Regions from separate parts of the Homo sapiens genome. Here region 1 is linked to region 2. The links are contacts of gene promoters, found by promoter capture Hi-C in human tissues and cell types (Jung and others, 2019). All regions are on one chromosome and are shown on one strand. The core of a region is centred on a gene start or on the middle of the fragment in contact, and the rest is flanking DNA. Distances in the headings are between cores, read along the strand shown. Region 1 overlaps PTGES3L-AARSD1 (PTGES3L-AARSD1 readthrough). Region 2 holds the start of BECN1 (beclin 1).

Region 1 (4,734 bases), core at 107-2,606, 120 kb after region 2:
CGGGGTTTTTCCCATGTTGGTCAGGCTGATCTCAAACTCCCGACCTCAGGTGATCCACCTGCCTCAGCCTCCCAAAGTGTTGGGATTACAGGCATGAGCCACAGCGCCGGCCCTGAATTCAGTCTGTCTACTGCTCTGGGTCTCTTCCACCTGATACCTTTCATCTTTCATACTAACATCTGTTCTAGTACCTACATGCATCACCTTAGTGGAAGCTACAGCAGCTGTCTTCAGCAATTTATGGGTACGCACATAAAAAAATTTCCTTAGAAGCCAAGGAGTCCCCCTTACTATTTCTGTGCCGTAAAGTGGGTTATAGTAACATTCCAGAATATATAACCTGTGTGTGTACCTAAAACTTGATTACTCCAATAAATGAACTCATTTTGTTTCCTGGTGAACCTCATAAAAGACAATCCACCCCTTCCCCTGAACACACTCTGTTCTTCTCCCCCTCTCCCTGGGGCATTGGATTAGGGCCTCAGTGACAGGCAAGAATGACATCACCAGTTCAAAAACTGCTGCTTTATTTTCTCTTTCTTTATACAACCAATTACCATTTTCACATAATTTGCTCAAGTGTTTATGGCTTTTCTTAATTATTTCATAAGGTTCCTTCCTTCTTAGGACACCCAGTTCATGTGTCCATTTTCAGGTCAAGAAACTGAAGCTCAGGGAGTCTCAGCAGGGGGACCAGACATCCAGGCTACCTTAACACCGTCTGGGTTTCTGACTGTTGTTCTGGCATGAGGTTTGCCTAACTCTGGATATTAAAATTACATGGTTGCTCTAGGTCTAAGTGACAAGAACCCACCTGAGTGGTAGTGAGCAAGAGTGGCCTCCCAGGTCACTGTTCTTGTTGTTGCACCTGTGTTCTGAATCTTTGTGTACCCCTAAAAATTCATATGTTGAAATCCTAACCCCCTAAGTGGTATCAGGAGGTGGGCCCTTTAGCAGGTGATTAGGTCACGGGGGCAGAGCCTTCGTGAATGAAATTAGTGCATTATAAAAGAGGCCCGAGAGGGCTGGGTGCGGAGGCTCATGCCTGTAATCCCAGCACTTTGGGAGGCTGAGGCAGGCGGATCACCTGAGGTCAGGAGTTCGAGACCAGCCTGGCCAACATGGTGAAACCCCATCTCTACTAAAAATACAAAATATTAGCTGGGTGGGATGGCAGGCGCCTGTAATCCCAGCTACTCGGGAGGCTGAGGCAGGAGAATCACTTGAACCTAGGGGGTGGAGGTTGCAGTGAGCTGAGATTGCACCATTGCACTTCAGCCTGAGCAACAAGAGTGAAACTCCATCTGTCTCAAAAAAAAAAAAAAAAAAAAAAGGCCCAAGAAAGACCCCTTACCCTTTGCACCAAGGGTGCAAAAAGATGGCTATTCCTGAACCAGTATTTGAACCTTCACACCAGACACTGAATTTGCCAGCTTCCCAGCCTCCACTGTGAGAAATACATTTTTGTTGTTTATAAGCTACCTAGTTTTTGTTATTATAGCAGTCAGATCAGACTAAGGCACACCCTAAAGAAACAAACACAGAGAGGGACAGAGATCTCACACAGAGACAAATTCACATGGGTCTCTGTTCAAGATCCTGCCTGAGTCCTTCTACAAAAGTAAGGAAGCTTCTGTGAAGCAAACATTTCCCTTTCTCCCACTAATGGACCCATTTTGTATAGCATGAGTGTTACACTATGGTTTTATCTAAAACATGGCACTCTGAGAAAAGCAAGATGCAGAAGAGTATACAATGTGCTACCATTTATGTTTAAAAAGAGGGAAGATTTATGTACATCTATTTTTTAAAATACTACCAGAGGGATATATAAGAAATTGGTAACAGGCTGGGCATGGTGGCTCACGCCTGTAATCCCAACACTGGGAGGCCAAAGTGGACAAATTGCTAGAGCCCAGGAGTTCAAGACTAGTGTGGGCAACACGGCAAAGCACTGTCTCTAGAAAAAATACAAAAAATTAGCCAGGTGTGGTGGTGCACACCTCTAGTCCCAGCTACTCAGAGGGCTGAGGTGGGAGGATCACCTGTTCCCAGGAGGTTGAGACTGCAGTAAGCCATGATTGTGCCACTGCATTCCAGCCTGGGCAACAGAGTGAGACTATATCTGGAAAAAAAAAAAAAAAAAAGGCCAGGCATGGTGGCTCATACTTGTAATCCCAGCACTTTGGGAGGCCGAGGCCGGCGGATTACCTGAGGTCAGGAGCTCGAGACCAGCCTGGCCAACATGGTGAAACCCCATCTCTACTAAAAATACAAAATTAGCCGGGCATGGTGGCACATGCCTGTAATCCCAGCTACTCGGTAGGCTGAGGCAGGAGAATTGCTTGAACTCGGGAGGCGGAGGTTGCAGTGAGCGGAGACTGCGCCATTGCACTCCAGCCTGGGCAACAAGAGCGAAACTCCATCTAAAACAAAAAAATTAAGTGATTGATTCTGGAGAAAGAAATTGGGTAACTCAGTGGCAGGGTTGAAGGAAATTTTTGGTAGCACACACCTGTAATCCCAGCTACTTGGGTGGCTGAGGCACAAGAATTGCTTGAACCCAGGAAGCGGAGGTTGCAGTGAGCCAAAATCATGCCACTGCACTCCGGCCTAGGTGGCAGAACAAGACTCTTATCTCCAAAAAAAAAAAAAGTTCCTTTCAGAGTCGGAAGAACAAATAGCTGAACACAGCCACAGCCACAGCCACAGGTTATCTCCCCTGGATGTCAGCTTTTGTATTTCTCCTCTGTTATTTCATCCTGGCTGTCTAGGCCTTAACCATCTTTGTTCTAGCTAAAGCTGTGACTGGATCTTTGTTTTATCACCTTTCCTGGATGTGCAAATCCAGTATTTCTACCCAGGTCTGTGAAACTTCAAAGCCTGTGCTCCTGAACATATTATGCTTCCATTTGCTCTATCACTAATGAAAGATGAGCTTAAGTCTTCCGTTGATTACAGATTTGTCCGTTTCTCCCTTGAGATCTGTCAATGTCTGCTTTATGTATTTTGAGGCTGTTATTAGATGCATACAAATTTAGAACTGTTATATTTTTCATCATTACACGTCCCTCTTAATCTCTGATTCTTACTTTAACCCTTTTCCTGTTTGCCCTGAGAATACTCGCCAGTGATGCTTGCAACTGCAGCACTTACCCCAAGAAGGTGACAATGCTGTCAACATTCCACAGTGATACTGTGATTGAAGTAGACAACAGAAATGGAAAGAAAACTAAGAAGCCAGCTGGGCACAGTGGCTCATGCCTGTAATCCCAACACTTTGGGAGGCCAAGGTGGGCGGATCACGAGGTCAAGAGGTGGAGACCATCCTGGCCAACATAGTGAAACCCCATCTCTACTAAAAATACAAAAATTAGCTGGCATGGTGGTGCGAGCCTGTAGTTCCAGCTACTCGGGAGGCTGAGGCAGGAGATTAGTTTGAACCTGGGAGGTAGAGGTTGCAGTGAGCCAAGATCGCACCACCGCACTCCAGCCTGGTGACAGAGCGAGACTCCATCTCAAACAAAAACAAAAAACAAAAACAAAAAAATCAGCCAGGCATGGTGGCACACACCTGTAATCCTGGCTACTCTGGAGGCTGAGGCAGGAAAATCCCTTCAACCCGGGAGGCAGAGGTTGCAGTGAGCTGAGATCACACCACTATATCCAGCCTGGGCAACAAAGCAAGAGTCCATCTCAGGGGGTGGGGCGGTAGGGGCGGGAAAAAGCCATGTGCCTTTGTGGATTATAACAAAATTATGGGAGCAGTGGACTCAGCTGATCAGATGTTCATTTCTTATCCAACTGAGTGCAAAAGCACAAGGTTTGGTATAAATTAATCCACCACCTTCTAAACATTACAGTGCATGAACTAAATTAGAAAATTATCTATTTATAAACGGAAAGTAACCACACAAGCACAATGGAGTATACAGTACGAATTAGTCATATAAATACAAGTGGTAGCGCAACCATTCTGAGTCAATCTATTTTATTGACCAAAAGATTCCTGTGGAAACAGGAGGTGAGTGCCCTAAGCCCTCACTCCTTAGCACTCTGCGTGCTGATGTAGTCCTGGAGAAGCGCCTGCGCCTCCATCCGCCGGCTCATCTTGGTGGCCTTGCCCTGAAAACGGCCTTTCTTCCCTGCTCCTTTGCCTTCCAGGACCTCAGCCACCCTGGGGAACAGAGGTATAGTCAGGGAGACTTTGAGGGAAAAGTCACAAAAAAAAACAAGGGCAGCTCTGAGTCTTTTTCCAGGGACTGGGAGAGGGATAAGAAGAGTAGATGACTTCTAGGAATCTTTCTTGAAAACACTTGCACATAGGCTGGGCATGGTGGCTCACACCTGTAATCCCAGCACTTTGGGAGGCCAAAGTGGGTGGATCACCTGAGGTCAGGACTTCAAGACCAGCCTGACCAATAGGATGAAACCCCGTCTCTACTAAAAATAAAAAAATCAGCCGGGCATGGTGGTATGCGCCATAATCCCAGCTACTCAGGAAGCTGAGACAGGAGAATTGCTTGAACCCGGGAGGCAGAGGTTGCAGTGAGCCGAGATGGTGCCATTGCACTCCAGCCTGGGCAACAAGAGTGAAACTTTGTCTCAAAAAAACACTTGCACATATGCACAAAGATATATGTACCATCATCACATAAGAGTGAATAACTGGAAACAACATCAGTGTCTATGAATTGGGCTAGATAAATTATGTTAATCTCCAGAGAGCAGGGT
Region 2 (4,615 bases), core at 104-2,603:
CCTCAGCCTCCCAAAGCACTGAGATTACAGGCGTGAGCCATCACATCCAGCAAATTCTTCAGACTTTAAGACTCTACTCCATTTACCAGCTGTTGGACCTTAGGTAAGTCACTTAACCTCTCTGTGCCTCGGTTCTTCATCTGAAAAATGATGTAATGACGGTATACCCCGTACGGGTTGTTACAGGGACTAAATGAAGTAATACGTGTAATGCACTTGGTATTACTATATAGTAAGTCCTCAAAAAATACCATTTATTATTATATATACATATTCCTTTTCTCTGAAACAGCAGGAGCAGAAAATAAGGATCTTTCTTTTGCTACTGAAAGCTCTCTTTTTTTGAGACGGAGCCTCGCTCTGTTGCCCAGGCTGGAGTGCAGTGGTGCGATCTCAGCTCACTGCAAACTCCACCTCACCGGTTCAAGCGATTCTCCTGCCTCAACCTCCCGAGTAGCTGGGACTACAGGCACGTGCCATCACGCCCGGCTAATTTTTGTATTTTTAGTAGAGAGGGGTTTCGCCATGTTGGCCAGGCTGGTCTCGAACTCCTGACCTCAGGTGATCTGCCCGCCTCGGTCTCCCAAAATGCTGGGATTACAGGCGTGAGCCACCGCGCCCGGTCGGAAAGCTCTCAGAAGTCCACAATGTCAGAATGCTTTATGTTTCCAAGGAGAAAACAGGGAGCCAGATGAAGTGACTTTCCTAGGTTCACACGATGAGTTTGTGGCAGACTACACAGCCACCATAAGAATTATATCACCAAAGCTGCCCACCTTCCACATTCTTGACCACCCTCTTTCCAAGGGTCTCGCTGACCTGTGAGTTCCTGGATGGTGACACGGTCCAGGATCTTGAAACTCGTGTCCAGTTTCAGGGGCTGGCTGCAGCGCTGGCACACGAAGCTCACCTGCATGGTGCTGTTGTTGGACGTCTTAGACCCTTCCATCCCTGAGGCCGTGGAAAAGAGGCAACATTAGGGAGAAGCGACGCCCTTGACCTCCGGCCCGGGGTTACCACATGCCTTGGTGACGATGGTAAAGGGAGGGAAGTCCCAACCTGCGCCGTTCCCTCTAGGAATGGTATGATACGGGGAGGACCTGCTTCCGGGACAGCCTGAGCAAAGGCAGTTTAGAGCCCAGGGTCAGGGAAGGGACTCCAATAAGAGCCGTGAGGGTTCCCAGACTCCCTTCTAAGGTCCCACCTCAGCCCCCGATGCTCTTCACCTCGGGAGCCCGGAGCCCGTCACCCAAGTCCGGTCTACCGCGGAGGCACTGTGGCCTCGGGTCGGCCCCGGAGCGAGGCCTCCAGAACTACCATCGCTCTGTCTTCAGCGACTTCCCGGTAGCCGCCGGAAAACTTCCGCCCGAGACCGGACGTGACGCTACGACGGCAGCAGGAGCTCCTGGTCCACAGGCTCACAGGCCCGGCAGCGGCCCCCAGAGGCCGGGCTGGGAAAAGCAGCGGGCTTCAGCGGATGAACAAGGTTACCACGGGAAGTGTAGGAGCCAAGGCCGCAGAGAATGGGGAGGCTCCGCTATTCTCTAAATTCAGGGGGCGGCGGGCGCGGTGGCTCACGCCTGTAATCTCAGCACTTGGGGAGGCCGAGGAGGGCGGATCACGTGAGGTCAGGAGTTCGAGACCAGCCTGGCCAACACAGTGAAACCCCGTCTCTACTAAAAATACAAAAACTAGCCGGGCGTGGTGGGGCACGCCTATAATCCCAGCTTAATCCCAGCTACTCGGGAGGCTGAGGCAGGAGAATCGCTTGAACCTGGGAGGTGGAGGTTGCAGTGAGCCGAGATCGGGCCACTGCACTCCAGCCTGGGCGACAGGGCAAGGCTCCATCTCAGAACAACAACAGCAACAACAAAAGGCCGGGCATGGTGGCTCACGCTTGTAATTCCAGCACTTTGGGAGGCCGAGGCGGGCGGATCACAAGGTCAGGAGTTCGAGACCAGCCTGGCCAAAATGGTTAAATCCCGTCTCTACTAAAAAATACAATTAGCTGGGCATGGTGGCGTGCGCCTGTAATCCCAGCTACTCAGGAGGCTGGGGTAGGAAAATCGCTTGACCCCCGGAGGCGGAGGTTGCAGTGAGTCGAGATCATGCCACTGCACTCCAGCCTGGGCGACAGAAGGAAACTCCATCTCAAACCCCCCCCCCCCACACACACACACAAAACCAACAAAAAAAGAAAGTGATATTCAAATAAAAGCTTGAAGAAGGTGAGGAAGGAATTCTTACCTGCATCTTAAGGAAGAGCATTCTAGGCCAAGGGAACAGCAAGAGCACAGAGGGTACCTGTTTGGGGATTAGCAGAGGCTGGTGTGGCTAGAAGATGGGCAACGAAAAGAGATACAGAAAATGGGGTGAGGGAGGTAAGAGTGTTGAGCTACCACCTAGGCTCTTATAGGGATTGTAAAGCTCTGGCTTTCACTTTGAATGAGATGAGATGACTGGGTCTTGAGCAGAGGGACTTACTTCATTTTTAAAAACAACTTTATGGGGTATAATTTACATACCATAAGACTCACACTTTTTAAATGTACAGTTCAATAATTTTTAGTAAATTTACACAGTTGCCCAACTATCACCATAATCCAGTTTTAGAACATTTCCCATCTCCCCTTGCAATCCCCCACTGTGGCCTCCCAAAGTGCTGAGATTACAGGTGTGAGCCAATGTGCCTGGCCAAAAGTTTTTCATTTCAATAAAGTCCAATGTTTATGCTTTTGGTGTAAAAGAAACCACTGCTTAACCCAAAATTGTATGTAGTATTGTCTATTTTATTTTTATTTTGAGACAGTGTCTTACTCTGTTACCCAGGCTGGAGTGAAGCGGAACAAACAAACATGGCTCACTGCAGATTTGACTTCCTGGCTCAAGCAATCCTCTTGCTTCAACCTCCAGTGTAGCAGGGACCACAGGTGATCACTACCATGCCCAGCTAATTTTTAAAATTTTTTGTAGAGATGTGGTCTCACACTGCACTCCAGCCTCGGTGACAGAGCGAGACGCCATCTCAAAAAAAAAAAGAGATGGGGTCTCACTTTGTTGCCCAGGCTTCTGCTTTTTAAATTTAACATTTTTCTATGTTGCTACACAGTTATTGTAGTTATCATGGCTACATTACACTACACTAAATGTACTGCCTTAGTGTATTTTTTTACCGCTGGAAATTCTACTATTTCCCCTGTGGGTGATTACAATAATCCTGCAATGAAGAGCTGGCTACTTATGATAGAGACTCATAACTGGGACTACAGAATTAAGAGTGTGTCAGCTATTTAATGTCTCTTCCTTAACACTGGGAATCATTTTCCAAAGTGCTTGCACATAACTATATTCTGCTTCCAGTAATGTATGAGGAAGCCTGTTTTCATATTGCCTTGGCCAGTATTGGGTATCATATATTTGGGGAACAAAAGCAAAAAATGGCACTTCCTTGTTATTTTAATTAGCATCATTGATTGCTGGTAAGGCTGAACTTTTTGCTATGTATTTGCTTATTGTAGTTACTTTTTTTTTTTTTTTTGAGATGGAGTCTTGCTCTGTTGCCCAGGCTGGAGTGCAGTGGTGCCATCTCGGCTCACTGCAACCTCTGCCTCCTGGGTTCACGCCATTCTCCTGTCTCAGCCTCCCGAGTAGCTGGGACTACAGGCGCCCACCACTACACCCGGCTAATTTTTTATATTTTTAGTGGAGACGGTTTCACCATGTTAGCCAGGATGGTCTCAATCTCCTGACCTCCTGATCTGCCCGCCTTGGCCTCCCAAAGTGCTGGGATTACAGGTGTGAGCCACCATGCCCGGCCTTTTTTTAAAAAAAAAAAAAAAAAGAGACACGGTCTCACTCTGTCACCCAGGCTGGAGTGCAGTGGTGCAATATCAGCTCACTGGAATCTCCGCCTCCCGGGCTCAAGCAGTAGTTACTTTTTTCTGAATTATGTTTGCATTCTTTGATTATTTAGGTATTGGATTATTAGTATTTTTCTCAGTATTTTTAGTAATTTTTCATGAATGCTTTAATTATTTTCCAGATGTTCAGGAAGTTTTAAATTTTCAAGTCAAATCTGCTTATTTTTCTTGATGACTTATACTGCTTAGAAAGTTATTCCCACCTCCAGAAGTGTCTTTCTTTTCTTTTAAATGTATGTGGTTTCTTATAGTTGGTATTGGATGTGATATGTGGAACTAGATTGATTTTTCTCCCGGTTTTGTGACTAGGGATAGTGTTTACAATCCTTCTTCCTCTTGGCTCTTTCAGCATGAAAGCCCCTTTAGGGGAGGTGACTGGAATCATCCCCAAAGAATTCTCACCTAGTCCTGGTGTGGCTGCTTCATAGTCCTGCGTTTCTTCCTGCTTGGCTGTCCCTAACATCTCAGAAACGCATAGAGAAGTAACGGGCTTCTAGAGAGGTAGGGGGTATAGTGTTACAACTGAGGATTTGGAAGTTGAGACCACCTGGTTCTTTACCATCCACTAACCATGTGACCTTATGCAATTTATTCAACTGTTCTGTGCTTTGTTTTCTTATTTACAAAATGAGATTAATAGTATACAGTAGTAAATATCATAAAGGGTAGTGTGATAAATGAGCTGATACATTTGG

What was found. The method cuts DNA at HindIII sites, captures the fragments that hold promoters and counts their contacts. A contact is called where the count stands out against the background at its distance.
Region 1: a contact is called between a fragment that was not itself captured here and the fragment with the promoter of BECN1 in region 2, in 8 of the 25 tissues and cell types used here (H1 embryonic stem cells, IMR-90 fibroblasts, aorta and 5 more).

Annotation. Positions count from the first base shown.
Region 1 is chr17:42,946,552-42,951,285 of GRCh38, forward strand. It overlaps PTGES3L-AARSD1 (PTGES3L-AARSD1 readthrough), which reads right to left. Exons shown (of 17, transcript NM_001136042.2): 17 at 3,975-4,177. The coding sequence ends at 4,042. It overlaps AARSD1 (alanyl-tRNA synthetase domain containing 1), which reads right to left. Exons shown (of 12, transcript NM_001261434.2): 12 at 3,975-4,177. The coding sequence ends at 4,042. Among named protein-coding and RNA genes, the nearest start is that of AARSD1, 16 kb to the right of the region's middle. The HindIII fragment of the contact is 8,985 bases long and covers 1-4,734 here.
Region 2 is chr17:42,822,929-42,827,543 of GRCh38, forward strand. BECN1 (beclin 1) reads right to left here and starts at 1,354. Exons shown (of 12, transcript NM_001313998.2): 1 at 1,227-1,354; 2 at 820-951. The coding sequence starts at 949. MIR6781 (microRNA 6781) reads right to left here and starts at 1,015; the gene lies at 952-1,015. RefSeq lists enhancers at 581-1,147, 1,148-1,716, 1,583-1,712, 1,717-2,283. The HindIII fragment of the contact is 8,869 bases long and covers 1-4,615 here.